Linked DNA regions of Homo sapiens: all the other regions are linked to region 1. Evidence: promoter capture Hi-C in 16 types of primary human blood cells and fetal thymus (Javierre and others, 2016). All regions are on one chromosome and are shown on one strand. Each heading gives the region's core, a stretch centred on a gene start or on the middle of the fragment in contact. The rest is flanking DNA. Distances are from core to core; before and after follow the strand shown. Region 1 holds the start of SHROOM1 (shroom family member 1). Region 2 overlaps MIR3936HG (MIR3936 host gene). Region 3 overlaps SLC22A5 (solute carrier family 22 member 5). Region 4 holds the start of IRF1 (interferon regulatory factor 1). Region 5 has its middle 3.1 kb from the start of IL5.

Region 1 (2,773 bases), core at 193-2,692:
TTTACTAAAAATACAAAAATTAGCTGGGCGTGGTGCCCGGTGCCTGTAATCCCAGCTACTTGGGAGGCTGAGGCAGGGAAAATTGCTTGAACCTGGGAGGCGCAGGTTTCAGTGAGCAGAGATCCGGCCACTGCACTCCAGCCTGGGCGACAGAGGGAGACTCTGTCTCAAAAAAGCAAAACAAACAACAAAAGTCTTTCAAAGCCGAAAGGTTCTTAGGCACTGTCTTAAAGCCTAGCGCTCCAGCTGAAGCTGGTGCCTGAGTCCAGATGGTGTTGAAGAAGGAGCAGGGCCCAGCGGGCACCACTCTCAGAAGTCGGGCTCAGGTGTCTCCTGCCTCCGAACCCAAGAAGACCCAAGAAGACAGAGTTCCTCAGGCTCCCAGTGTCCCTAGGAAGTGGCAACCTTGACTCTTGGCCAGAGTTCAGAGTCCTGGTTATTAACACCAATAAACCTTTATTTGCCAGGGATACTACCATGGGAGGACACAGCCCCTGAGCCCAGCCCTGTTGATCCTGTGGGAGCGGGAGGGCAGCGGAGGACAAAGGCAGAGACCTGAGAGCCGGAGAGGCTCATCAAAGGGTCCCCAGCCCCTCTCAGGAACGGAGCATTTCTTGGCAGAGTGGTATTCATAGGACAGAGTTTGGGAAGTCGGGGCAGGGGAGCCTGAGGACACAGCAAGGAGAGCTCAGTGGCAGGTGCAGGCAGAGCGTTCTTTGGAAAATGGAGATCCTGGAAGGTGAGGGCCTCGAGCGCCAGTGTCCAGCCTTAGTGGGTATGCATATGTCCAGCTCCCTAAGGACACACTCAGGACAGCTAAGGTGCACACAAGTCCAGGGGCTTCCCCGTGCTCCGCCCCCCTCTCCCCCACCCCGGTAGCAGGCTGGAGGGCCCAGACCATGCTGGGTAGTGGGAGAAATGGAAAGAAATGGGACAGGGAACAGGAGACAAGAGCCCATGGTGGGAGTCAAAGAGCTGGAAGAGTTTTGGAAATGGGGGTCTGGGGGTAGAGTTGATCAAGGGCCGAGTTACTCAGCGGGACAGGTGGGAGGCACGAGGCCCTGGCAGCTCTGTTTTCTTGGCCGGGCTTGGGGGGGAAAGCGGGTAGCCGTCAGGCGCCTAAGGGCCCGCCCTGGACCTCCCCACCGAGGGAGGTGTCAGGCCCCGAGGGACCCGGCCCCCGAGCATCACGGACGCGCTGGAGGCCGGTGGGCGGTCGCCGTAGTCGCCCTCCCACCACCTCGCTCAGGTTTCTCCGGCCTGGGGCAAGAGGCCTGTGGCCCGCGCGGGAACGCACTGTCCACCCTCAGACCTGGGACTGGGCCGGCGCGCGGACGCTACCAAGAGGCTGCGGCTCCCGCCCCCGCGGCCGGACGTGGCGCCTCCCCTGAGGCCGCGGCCGGAGCCTGGAGGTGGGGTCGGAGTCAGAGCCCGGGGCTCTGATGTCACCGCGCGGCTGCGACGGCCCAGGAGCGCGTCTCGGCGGGAGCCTCAGGTACGCGGCGGGGGCGGGGGAGCGGGAAGCGGGCGGCTGGGTCCGCTTCCCCCGGGAGGCCGGCGGGGCTGCGGGCGGACGGGGGTGAAGAGCGGGCGGCGAGGCGGTGGTCGCGGGGCAGCCCGGGCATCGTTCGGCCGGGACGTGTCTGGCTCGGCGCCGCGTCAGGTTGCGCCAGTGGAGTCGGACCCCAGCGCGCCTCTCCCAGCTGCAGAGCTGCAGGGCGGAGAGGCGGCCCACTCTAAGCTGGCGGCGCGGCTCAGGGGCGCGGCTGGGCGCGCCGCGTGTGGCGCCGGCGGGCAGCGCGGTCTCACTCCGCCACCCTCCGCTCCTGCCCTTTGTCGCCAAGCATCTGGAGAAGCCGGGTCCTTCCCTCCCGGGCTCGCGCTGTCCCCTGCGCGCGATCCTTCCCCGACGGTGAACCCAACGGGAAAGGCCCAGAACTGCGCGGGGCTGCGGCCATCTGCTGTCGAGCCGCTCCGCGTGTCTCTGCCGCCCCCTGCGGCCGCCGGGGCCTGCGCCTCTCTCCCTCCCGTGCCTCGGCTCCCAGAGATTGAACCCCAGGTAACCGGGTCTGTCCACGCCCGCGGCCGCCTCTCCCCGGGTGTCGCCAGCTTCCTGCATTTCCTGTGCATGGCACGGAGCTCGGGTCTCCAGAGACTCTGCATCTGGGGTGCAGCGACCGATGAGCCCGTAAACCAGTCGCACACTCGGAGCGTGGATGCTGCGTGGGGTGCGCTGTCAGCGCGGACAGGCTGGGAGAACGGGGGACGCTGGGGACAGGGAGAGCCGGTGAACTTCCCAGAACGTCCGCCTAGCCAGACCCAGCTGCGGGTACTGGGTTTTGAGACGTGGTCCAGTACCCAGGAACTCAGTCTGACAGGGAGACAGCGCCTACACAGTGAGCCCAGTACTGAGGGAAGACCCGCTGGGAGGGGCGGCCTGGATAGCCCCTCCACAGAGAGGTCAGATGTGAGGTGGCCTTGAGGGAGGTATGATGTAAATCCTGATCATTCGTTGTATTTGAGGCTGTCCGTTCTCCTGTGCCTCCTCGGTCGCCTTACTTGGATCTGTTCCCATTGCCTTGGTGTGATTTTATCCACCGGAAACTGTCTTCAGCTATTTCCCCAGTAACCTCTAACTAAAAACCTGGGTCTTGCCTGGTCTACCCTCCCCTGCTGAACTCCAGAGCCACATCCCAACTGCTGCCTGACTTGTCACAGACACCATGAAGCCCAGACTGAAGGAGCACTGGCCCCCTTGACAATTCCTCAGCCC
Region 2 (2,773 bases), core at 88-2,587, 470 kb after region 1:
TACCTCAGCATAGCAAGCTTGGCTTGGTCTAAATCAGGGTAGAGGTGATTGCTGCTCAAAGGAAGTGAGAGAGACACCCAGCTCTGGATTGGAGAACATGACTTTGACCTGGGTTTCAGCCTCCACAGGGCTAAGCCCCAGGGGAGCACTGGGCAAGTTGCTAAGGCCACAAGCAGGAGTTTATAACCAGGCTAGACTAAGCCCACTGATGCAAGAATTTTTTTTTTTTTTTTTTGAGACAGAGTCTCACTCTGTCACCCGGGCTAGAGTGCAGTGGTGTGATCTTGGCTCACTGCAACCTCCGCTTCCCTGGTTCAAGTGATTCTCCTGCCTCAGCCTCTCAAGTAGCTGGGATTACAGGCACCCGCTACCATGCCTGGCTAAATTTTGTATTTTTTTAGTAGAGACAGGGTTTCACCGTGTTGGCCAGGATGGTCTTGAGCTCCTGACCTCAAGTGATCCACCTGCCTTGGCCTCCCAAAGGGCTGGGATTACTGGCTTGAGCCACCATGCCCAGCCTGATGCATGAATTTGCATTCTTCATGCTCTTCATCTATGCTTCTGAAGACCTGGCACTTAGTCAACACTCAGTAAGTTTTTATTTTTTAACTGCTTTATGATTATAAAAGTAATATATGAAGCATTTGTAAAGTATGGAAATCTGGAAAAAATAAAACAGAAGTCATCTATAATCTGACCATCCAAACATACCTACTGTTAATACCTTAGTCTACGTTCTTTCTTTTTTTCCTTTTTTTGAGATGGAGTCTTGCTGTGTTGCCCAGGCTGGAGTACAATGGCATGATTTCGGCTCACTGCAACCTCTGCCTCCCAGGTTCAAGCAGTTCTCCTGCCTCAGCCTCCCAAGTAGCTGGGCTTACAGGCATCCACCACCATGCCCTGGTAATTTTTGTATTTTTAGTAGAGATGGGGTTTCGCCATGTTGGCCAGGCTGGTCTCAAACTCCTGACCTCATGTGATCTGCCCGCCTCAGCCTTCCAAAGTGCTAGGATTACAGGTGTGAGCCAATGCGCCTGGCCTTTTTTTTTTTTTAAGACAGTTTTGCTCTTTTTGCCCAGGCTGTAGTGCAGTGGTGTGATCTTGGCTCACTGCAACCAGGTTCAAGTGATTTTCCTGCCTCAGCCTTCTGAGTAGCTGGGACTACAGACGCCACCATGCCCAGCTAATTTTTTTGTATTTTTAGTAGAGATGGGGGTTTCACCATATTGGCCAGGTTGGTCTCCAACTCCTGACTTTGGGTGATCCGCCCACGTTGGCCTCCCAAAGTGTTGGGATTACAGGCATGAACCACTGTGCCCAGCTGAGCCTACTTTCTTCTGGTCTTTTTCTCATGCCTCCCCACCACCACCCCAGCCCCCCGCCATTACATACGTATATATGTTTATTTTTTTTTTAAAGAGATGAAGTCTTGCTCTGTTGCCCAGGCTGGTAGGCTGATCTCAAACTCCTGGCTTCAGGTGATCCTCCTGTGTTGGCCTCCCAAAGTGCTGTTGTTACAGGCATAAGCCATCACACCTGGCTATTTTTCACGCTTTAAAAACTCACTTTATTCATTCATTTATTCACTCATTCTTTGATTAACACTCATATACTGGTTTTATTTTATTATTTTATATTTTTAGCTACAGGGTCTCACTCTGTGCCCGAGGCTGGAGTGCAGTGGCATGATCATGACTCTGCAACCCCGAACTCCTGGGCTCAAGGGATCCTCCCAACTCAGCCTCCCAAGAAGTTAGGATTACAGGCACATGCTACCACACCCTGCTAATTTTTTTAAATTAATTTTTTTCTTCCTTTTTTTTTTTTTTTTTTTTTTGTAGAACCAGTGTGTGTTAGGCCATTCTTGCATTACTATAAAGAAATACCTGAGACTGGGTAATTTATTAAGAAAAGAGGTTTAATTGACTCACGATTTCACAGGCTGTATAGGAAGTGTGGCACTAGGCATCTGCTCAGCTTCTAGGGAGGCCTCAGGGAGCTTTTACTCACAGTGGAAGGTGAAGGGGGAGCAGGTGTGTCACATGGTAAAGACAGGAGCAAGGTGGGGGGAGGTGCCACACCCTTAAACAACCAGATTTCTCAAGAACTCACTTATTATGGTGGGGACAGCTCCAAGCCATGAGGGATCTGCCCCCATGACCAAAACACCTCCCAGCAGGCCCCACCTCCAACATTAGAGATTACATTTCCACATGCGATTTGGACAGGGATAAATATCCAGACTATGTCATTTTGCCCCTGGCCCTCCTAAATCTCATGTCCTTCTCAAGTTGCAAAATACAATCATGCCTTCCCAAGAGTTCCCCAAAGTCTTAACTCATTCCAATGTTAACTCCAAAGCCCAAAATTCAAAGTCTCATCTGAGACAAGGCAAGTCTCTTCCACCTATGAGCCTATAAAATCAAAAACAAGCTATATACTTCCAAGTTACAATGGGTGTATAGGCATTGGGTAAACATGCCCATTCCAAAAGAGAAATTGGCCAAAAGAAAGGGGCTACAAGCTCCATGCAAATTCAAAACCCAGCAGGGCAATTATTAAATTGTAAAGCTCCAAAGTAATCTTCTTTGACTCCGTGTCCCATATCCAGGGCTCACTGGTGCAAGAAGTGGGCTCGCAAGGCCTTGGGAAGCTTCGCCCCTGTAGTTTGCATAGTACAGCCTCCACAGCTGCTCTTATGGGCTAGAGTTGAGTGCCTGTGGCTTTTCCAGGCACAGGGTGCAAGCTGCCAGTGGATCTACCATTCTCAGGT
Region 3 (2,773 bases), core at 162-2,661, 450 kb after region 1:
TTGTGGGGTGTTCTCACATGTGTCATGTGGCCAAGGACTTGCTGAAGGCTGCTACTCTCTTCACAGTCTTCTCTGACAGACCCTGAAGCTCCAGGGAAAGAAGACACAACATAATGGACCCCTCTAAGAACTTCATGAAAGCTACGGACCTCTCTCCAAAAAAATGCTCACATGTAGTCTCTAACATTGTGCATATAATTTCGAGGGGTTTGGGATTCTCTAAGCCGTTAATGTTTCCTTGAGTTAAAAGCTTTAGAATTATACAAATAACCTGCTTATAAGAAATGGATCAAAACACTATTCTCCCTCCTGTCATAAAGTAAATGCCAAAACCACAGGCCACTTAGCTAAGGGGCATCAGCCTTGTGGACAAAAGAGTTCTGCTTTTCATACCACTAGTGGCTGGTGAGAGCTCCTTTCACTTTGCAGAGAGAATGCTGGTCTTCTTGGGACTACAGAGGCAGACACCGTGGCACTACTACAGATCTACAATCTAGCACATGTGCATGTGTGCATGATGTCAACCTCTCCCATGCTCAGGGGCATGACAGAGTCACAGTGACCCAGGGGAGGCAAGCCAGGCTACTGCAGAAGTGAATCATGGCATATTACCTAGTCAACCGGGTCACAGATACATTCAGCTTAGACAGCTCAGGTTTCTTTACTTAGCAAGAATTACGGAGTCAGATTTGTTGGCTCTTCTTACTAGGCATGGAGTCTATATCACAGACATAGCTTCCTCTTCTTTAAAATACAGGGCCCTGCGCTGAAAGAATACTACCAACTGAAATCAAGGGCCAGGCACACGCTTCTTCCTCAGTGCTGAGGTCCCCTGGTGCTCCAGAAGACAGACACCTTACCTGTCTGACAGCTGCCCTGAAATGAAGGAGCCCAACAGCACACCCACGAAGAACAAGGAGATTGTGAGTGGGGCCTTCCAGTCGTCCTCACACACCAGGTTCCACTGCAAGATGAGCAAAGGGGGTGTATCATTCACTTCTTTTTAAAAGGTTTTAAAGCAAAGGCATCCTGGAAAATGAAGTCAGAACATCCTGCCATCCCCACACGCTCTGAGTGTGAACTCACTTAGTCAGGTGATGGCTCACCTGGGCAGGAAGGCAGAGAGCAGGCTTCTTTCCCATCCTGTTTTTCATAGCATTGTAGGCCCCACTGTCTTGCTTCCATTTTGAGGAGGAGAGACAGGCAGAGAGTAAGTGTTCTGTCCACATGCTGACCCTGGAGAAAGCAAGGCCTCTAACGCTTGCTCCTAAAAATCTGAGCGGAGCCCAGGGCTGTGGAAGAGGCAGGGCACCCTCGCTCAGTGGGGTTCAGGCCATTGGCATGAACGTCACTGGAGTGGTTCTGGAAGCAGGGCTCTGGGGCTCTACGGGCCAAAGCATCCAGCAAGAAACTAAGGCCAGGGCACAGAGTGCACCATCTGGACCTGCTCTGCTCGGGTTCCCACCCTGGGCCAATGACCCCCGGGTCCTTTTTGTGACCTTTAGAGCTGGAATCCCTGATGCTGCACACCAACTATACTAGGCTCAATTACAGCTGAAAGTCCTGAGCTTGGAGGTAAGAAACTGGGTTTTAGCTCCCACTCTACTATTAAAACTCTTCCAACCTCAGATAAGCATCACCCCATGCTGTGCCTTGATTTCCCCATTTGTAAAACAGGGATTGGGGTAAGGAATAGGCTGCACCGCTTGAGTTTCCAGCTTCCAATGTGTGGTTCCATCTATAGTTACCATGAACAGAAAAAGAGGTCTGAAGACATGGGGAAGCAGCCAGACGCTTGGATCTGGCTGCGCCTGCCTAAACAAGAGCCAAAAGCAGGAAGAAAGCCCAAACGGGAAACTTAGTGGTTCACAGAAAAATGAAAAATGTTTTTCAGACAGAGAGATGGTGCTCAGTAGTAACCTTTGCAGACTTCTCACATGAGCAACCACCCTCCTAGGAACTCAGACCCTTGCCTCCCTGGTGCCAGGCTGCTAGCCTGCCCTCCACGGAGCCTGCTGGCTCCTCACCAACAACGCAGGCAAGGGGACATGCGGCTCCCTAGAACAAAGCATCTCTTCCAAGCCAGTGACAGGGAAAAACAAGCCTGCTTCTCCGCACTGCTGGGCAGTGTGGGCGCACAGCCTCCGGGCACCTCTCAGAGGGGTTGGCAGGCAACCCTCAGGCTGGACACGGAGAACTCCCGCAGCAGGCACACTGCTGGTGCTCCGCTTTGGAATAAGCGTGAACCTGGATGGGCTGGGAGTAGGGTGGCAATCCCCAACCCAGGGAAGAACTGGAGCATCCAACCCCTAATCAGGAGGCAGCCCAGACTAGCAGGAGTCAAGAACATGGGAGGACCACAGCCTGACTGCCCAGGCTGCCACAGCCTCCAACCTCCACAGCCTCAGAAGGGCCAGCACCCACAGGCCATCTCTCTGGTAGGTGGGTAAGTATCCCTGCAGTGGCCCCCACCCACACATGGCTGCTAAATCTAGGACTGGGAGTGGAGGCGGAGAAAAAGCTGAGGGAATTGATGACAGGGTGCCGGCCTCTGTGTGTGAGGCCAAGCTTCAGGGGCCAGGACCTGGCTCCTGCCACTCTTGAGTATGATGGGCTCTATTTCCCAGCTAGCATGTCTTTTATAGTGGAAAAGATGAAAACATGAACAAAGGGTCAGCAGCGGTTTCTCACAGGACTATCATGAGGTGAGGGTTGGGGACCCATATGGCTGAGCTAGACTAGCAATCCACGTGGGCTTCTGCAGTGAGTTCTG
Region 4 (2,773 bases), core at 172-2,671, 340 kb after region 1:
TTGCATGGGTGTGTCTATTTATAGCCTGCAAAATGGGGTGCTGCCCTGGAGGGAGAGCTGGGGTGAAGGAAATGACACGCCTGGGAGAGTAACTTACTTCTGCAGGAGCTTTAGGGAGATGAAGGAAGAAGCCTCCTGGGCCAGAGTTTTGGATGGAAAATGAACACCCAGTCAAGTCTCTAGGACTATACGTGGGGCGGGGACTAGTTGTGCGCGAGAGTTAAGTAGGGGCCTTACCAAGGAGCATGGGACCTGGGCTCCCCAACCCTTTGGCTAGCCCCATGGCGTTGATCAGCCCTGAGCTAATTCCTCCATGCTGCCCAGAACCTCTCTGGGCCAAGCCCTGGGGACTCAGAGATGACAGCAATGCTTCCATTGCGGAACTCCCATACGCGGGCCACAGGGAGGCTCTGGAGGCGGCCTGAGGCAAGAGTGCTAGGAGGGATCAGAGCTAGCCCACCCCTACCCTCACTCAGCCGTCTGGGCTTCTCTGAACCCCTTCTCCTCCTCTGTTCCCTAAAGCCAGCCAGGGGGAGTCCCAGGGAGGCAGACCGAAAAGGGGTGGGGTGTCATCCTGGTCACTATTAGACCCTGCAACGGCGACCTTGAAAACTACTCAGCGTCTGTTGCCCGAGTGGAGCATAGTGCTTTACAATCTCTTCCCATCACAGCAAACCATCAAGGTAGGGCTACTATTATTTTATGGTTGAAAAACAGAGGTCCTGCGTCCCTTGGGGGCTGTGCCAGCAGCGGCCAAGTTGGGATTTCCCCTGGTCCAGCAGCCCCAGACAGCACACGGGGCAGGGTAGGCTTTCTGCCTTCTTCACTTCCCCAGGGCAGGTGAGTGACCTGGAGGGAGGGGGTCACCCCTAAAAACAGGGGTAGTGCTAGGACTGAAACCCTCCCTTCTTGATATCCCACTGGCAAGCTTGAGGAGCCAGGCTGCCAGTCGGGAGATTCGGCCCAGTGTTCCCACTGGAGAGGGCGGCAAGTGCCCGGGCGATCCCCTCACCTGCGTTCGGGAGATATACCCCCGCCCCCGCCCCGCCAGGAGGGTGAAAAGATGGCCCCAGGAGCCAGCCGGCTGGGACAAGGCGGAGTGAGAGGACAGGCTGGGGCCAGGGGCGCTGGGCTGTCCCGGGCAGCCCTCCTCCGGGCAAGCCGGAGCAGGGGTGGATTGGGAGCGCTCGGGGCGGGCCCGCGGTGGCCCCGGGGCGGTGGCGCCCGGCCGGAGAGGGTGGGGCGGAGCAGCCGCCCTGTACTTCCCCTTCGCCGCTAGCTCTACAACAGCCTGATTTCCCCGAAATGACGGCACGCAGCCGGCCAATGGGCGCCCGCGCGGCTGTCCGGGGGCGGGGCCGGCCAGGGCTGGGGAATCCCGCTAAGTGTTTGGATTGCTCGGTGGCGCCGCTGCCCTGGCAGAGCTCGCCACTCCTTAGTCGAGGCAAGACGTGCGCCCGAGCCCCGCCGAACCGAGGCCACCCGGAGCCGTGCCCAGTCCACGCCGGCCGTGCCCGGCGGCCTTAAGAACCCGGCAACCTCTGCCTTCTTCCCTCTTCCACTCGGAGTCGCGCTCCGCGCGCCCTCACTGCAGCCCCTGCGTCGCCGGGACCCTCGCGCGCGACCGCCGAATCGCTCCTGCAGCAGAGGTGAGTACGCCTTTGAGGCGCGGGGCACCGGCGGCGTCGAATAAAAGGCGCGCGGGGCACCAGGAAGTGGGGGGTCGAAAGCTCCAGGCTGGAGACTCGCCGGCGCGCGGCGTTGCCCGGGCCTCCGCGCGGGCTCCGGGGGGCGCCGGAGGAGCTGCGAGCCGCGGGCCGCGGCGCGGGGAGGGCGGGACGCGGCGTGGACCGCCCACCCGGACGAGGCTGCCGGCGCCCGGCAGCTTTCGCAGATCTGCGTGCGCGCAGCCGCCAGGGGCCTGTAGGTGGCCCGCTATGTTCGTCCCGCGCATCCACACGCCGTGCCGGGGACCGAGTGTCAGCCCACGCGTGGGCGCCCAGTGCTCCCGGCTTTCGGCGGTCCCAGCTCCGCGCCCAGGCGACAGGTTTTGGGCTCCCTGTGCTGGTGGCAAGGGCTGGCTTACTGCCCAGGTGGCTGGAGGGAATCGTGACCTACGGAGACTGCGGGAAGAGGCGCCACAGGTGTTCCTTGGGCCACTTCTCCAGAGGAGGGGAAACCGGGCCGGAAGGGTTAGCGTCCTGGTCTTAGCGTTGTGGGCGCTGTGGCTGTCAGGAAGGCGTAGAATGGATTCAGGGGGGCGGGAGGGGGCTGTTCAGGGTGACGGCTAGCCCTTTGCTAGCTAGTGGTTACAACTCAAGTCAAGGGAATTTCTTCTTGGCATCAAGCAAAAGAAGTCCCTCCCTTCCCAAAGGATTTGAATTTTGAGCGAAAAGTTCTGAAATTAGGGTATCTGTGCATTTTGTCTCTTTTCCTGCATATGAATCCTGAAGCCATCACTTGCATGCCTGTCTCCTCCAGAGACTGGCTGGGAGGGGCTGAAGGAAGGGGCAAAAGCATTTTTGCCTAAGATGCTGAAAAAATTTGGAGAGCAGTTTTATTCCAGCGCAGCTCCCCTCCGCACTGAGTGTAGTACCTAGCAGCTGGCTGAGGTGAGGGGAGGGTAACTAAGTGACCTCGGGTGGGGCAGGTCACTGCCCAGGTACTGTTCAACAGATTCCAGACTGGAGCCTCTGTGTTCTCTTTACAGCCAACATGCCCATCACTCGGATGCGCATGAGACCCTGGCTAGAGATGCAGATTAATTCCAACC
Region 5 (2,773 bases), core at 102-2,601, 280 kb after region 1:
GTAGCTGGGATTACAGGCGCCAGCCACCAAGCCTAGCTAATTTTTGTATTTTAGTAGAAACAGGGTTTCACCATATTGGCCAGGCTGGTCTCGAACTGCTGACTTCAACCAATCCACCCACCTCAGCCTCCCAAAGTGCTGGGGTTACAGACCTGACCCATCATGCCTCGCCGCAGTATTATTTTTAATACACTTTTTATTTTAAGTAGTTTTAGATTTATAGAGAAGTTTCAAGACTGTTAGAGAGCATTCCAGTGTGCCCTGCACCCAGTTTCCCATTGTTAACATTACTATGGTACAATTGTCACAACTAAGGAACTAATATTGGTACATTACTAAACTCCAGGCTTTTTCCAATTCCCTTAGTTGTGCCCGTTGTCCTTATTCTGTTCCTGAGTGTCATCCATGATACCACATTGTATGTAGTCATCACGTCTCTTAGAGGCCTCTCTGGCTGTGTCAGTTTCTCAGACTGTGCTTGTTTTTGATGACCTTAACAGTTTTAAGGAGTACTGGTCAGGCATTTTGTCTTTCCATTTGGGTATGTGTAGTGTTTGTGTCATGGTTAGGCAGAGGTTACTGGTTTTGGGGAGGAAGATGACAGGGATAAAGTTCCTTTCTTATCACATCAAATCAAAGGTACATGCTGTTAACATGATGTTTCACTGCCACCATTGACTGGGATCACCTAGCTGAAGTAGTGTTTGATCAGGTTTCTCCACTGTGAAGTTATTCCTCTTATTCTCCCCTTTCCATACAGTTCTCTTTTTTAAAAAGTCACTCTGTATATCCCACTCTTAATGAAAGGGGGTTGTGTTCCATCTCCTTGAGGGTGTAGTAGCTACATACATTATTTTGAATTCTTGGGCACAGGAGATTAAAATCATTAACTTTTATTTGGAGTTTTGCATTAATAAAGCTCTTTCTTTTTTTTGAGATGGAGTCTCGCTCTGTTGCCCAGGCTGGCGTGCAGTGGCGTGATCTCAGCTCACTGCAACATCCACCTCCCAGGTTCACGCCATTCTCCTGCCTCAGCCTCCTGAGTAGCTGGGACTACAGGTGCCGGCCACCATGCCCAGCTAATTTTTTTGTATTTTTAGTGGAGATGGGGTTTCACTGTGTTAGCCAGGATGGTCTCGATCTCCTGACCTCGTGATCTGCCCGCCTCAGCCTCCCAAAGTGCTGAGATTACAGGTGTGAGCCACCATGCCTGGCCAATAAAGCTCTTTCAAATACATTATTTTACAGGTCCAACTCCGAGACAGTTTACAGTCAGGTTGGGGAGATCACACTTATAGAGGAAAAGTTAATGACACGAAAACTTTATAAGAAATTTAATTTTGTACACCCATGTTCATAGCAGCATTATTCACAATAGCCAAAGGATGGAAGCAACATTGGTGTCCATCGACAGACCATGGATAAACAAAACATGGTATAGACATCCAATGAAATATTATTCAGCCTTAAAAAGGAAGAAAATTGACACATGCTACAACATGGATGAATCTTGAGAATAGACATTATGCTAAATGATATAAGCCAGTCACAAAAAGCCAAGTACTGTATATCAGGTACCTAAAGTCATCAAATTCATAAAGACAGAAAGTAGAAGCGTGGTTGCAAGGTGCTGGGAGAATGGGGGCGGGGGTTGGGAGCTGTTGTTTAATGGGTACAGAGTTTCAGTTTTGCAAGATGAAAAGAGTCCTGGAGATTTGTCACACAACATTATGAATGTACTTAAGGCTACTGAGCTGTACACTTAAAAAAATGGTTAAGATAGTAAATTTTATGTGTATTTTGCCACAATTAAACATTTCTAAAAGAAATACAATTTTGAATAAGAAGTATTTTTTATAACTAGCCTTCCAATAAGAACCCACAGTTTTGCTGTAAAACAGAGGCTGCAAAATGGTACATTATACAGTTGCCAACATTTGAAAAATCCAGAGATTATATATAATAAGCAGGATTTCAGCCTTCCTTTTTTGTTGTTGTTGTTGTTGTTGTGCTTTTTGTTTTTTTGTTTGTTTGTTTGTTTTGAGACAGTCTCACTCTCTTGCGCAGGCTGGAGTGCAGTGGTGCAACCTCAGCTCACTGCAACCTCCGCCTCCTGAGTTCAAGCAATTCTCCTGCCTCAGCCTCCCGAGTAACTGGGATTACAGGCACACACCACCACGCCTGGCTAATTTTTATAAAGGCTTCTTTGAAAAACAGAATGATCGGGTAATGTGAGCCCAGGTGTGTCACCTGGCAACCATCAGCTGGAGCTGAGCAGCACCTGCCACCTTTAGACAGATCATGCATGCTATAGTTTCATGTGACCCCCACCAGCTTTGATGTATTACACCCTGCCCATTTCACTCACTGGTCTTGAACTCCTGGGCTCAAGGGATCCACTGCCTGGGCTTACCAAAGTGCTGGGATTACAGGCGTGAGCCACTGTGTTTAGCCCAATTTTTTATTTTTTCTAGAGATGGAGTCTCACTATGTTGCCTGGGCTGGTCTCAAACTCCTGGGCTCAAGCAATCCTTCTGCTTCAGCCTCCCAAAGTGCTGGGATTACAAGCATGAGCCACCTTGCCCAGCCTCCTATGATAGAATTTAAGCACTCAGAACTTTGTGTATTTAAGGTACTAAAATAACAAGTTATTTGGCAATTCCCCTGAAACTTTCACCTAAGCCCTAACTTCCTCAGTGTAACATAAAGGTGTCAGGGGGAATCAGAGAGAACGCTCTCATATTCTCTGGGAAGAGAAAGCTCCTGCCAGAAC

The links. The method cuts DNA at HindIII sites, captures the fragments that hold promoters and counts their contacts. A CHiCAGO score of 5 or more calls a contact.
Region 2: a contact is called between a fragment that was not itself captured here and the fragment with the promoter of SHROOM1 in region 1, in 1 of 17 cell types (neutrophils). The highest score is 6.1, in neutrophils.
Region 3: a contact is called between a fragment that was not itself captured here and the fragment with the promoter of SHROOM1 in region 1, in 10 of 17 cell types (neutrophils, naive CD4 T cells, M0 macrophages and 7 more). The highest score is 8.0, in neutrophils.
Region 4: a contact is called between the fragment with the promoter of IRF1 here and the fragment with the promoter of SHROOM1 in region 1, in 1 of 17 cell types (monocytes). The highest score is 9.5, in monocytes.
Region 5: a contact is called between a fragment that was not itself captured here and the fragment with the promoter of SHROOM1 in region 1, in 2 of 17 cell types (fetal thymus and endothelial precursors). The highest score is 5.5, in fetal thymus.

Annotation. Positions count from the first base shown.
Region 1 is chr5:132,829,316-132,832,088 of GRCh38, reverse strand. It overlaps SHROOM1 (shroom family member 1), which reads left to right and starts at 1,442. Exons shown (of 10, transcript NM_001172700.2): 1 at 1,442-1,495. RefSeq lists silencers at 1,134-1,553, 1,764-2,073. The HindIII fragment of the contact is 14,647 bases long and covers 1-2,773 here.
Region 2 is chr5:132,355,487-132,358,259 of GRCh38, reverse strand. The region is part of intron 4 of MIR3936HG (MIR3936 host gene); the gene reads left to right. Among named protein-coding and RNA genes, the nearest start is that of MIR3936, 8.7 kb to the left of the region's middle. The HindIII fragment of the contact is 2,636 bases long and covers 20-2,655 here.
Region 3 is chr5:132,376,569-132,379,341 of GRCh38, reverse strand. SLC22A5 (solute carrier family 22 member 5) reads right to left here. Exons shown (of 10, transcript NM_003060.4): 2 at 861-964. Among named protein-coding and RNA genes, the nearest start is that of MIR3936HG, 8.0 kb to the right of the region's middle. RefSeq lists an enhancer at 2,238-2,739. The HindIII fragment of the contact is 2,318 bases long and covers 253-2,570 here.
Region 4 is chr5:132,489,421-132,492,193 of GRCh38, reverse strand. IRF1 (interferon regulatory factor 1) reads left to right here and starts at 1,421. Exons shown (of 10, transcript NM_002198.3): 1 at 1,421-1,649; 2 at 2,711-2,773. The coding sequence starts at 2,716. RefSeq lists enhancers at 170-219, 260-469, 1-606, 740-879, 1,901-2,548 and silencers at 1,020-1,469, 1,730-2,009, 2,540-2,589. The HindIII fragment of the contact is 1,939 bases long and covers 931-2,773 here.
Region 5 is chr5:132,545,187-132,547,959 of GRCh38, reverse strand. It overlaps a transcript of IL5 not described here. Among named protein-coding and RNA genes, the nearest start is that of IL5, 3.1 kb to the right of the region's middle. The HindIII fragment of the contact is 4,642 bases long and covers 1-2,773 here.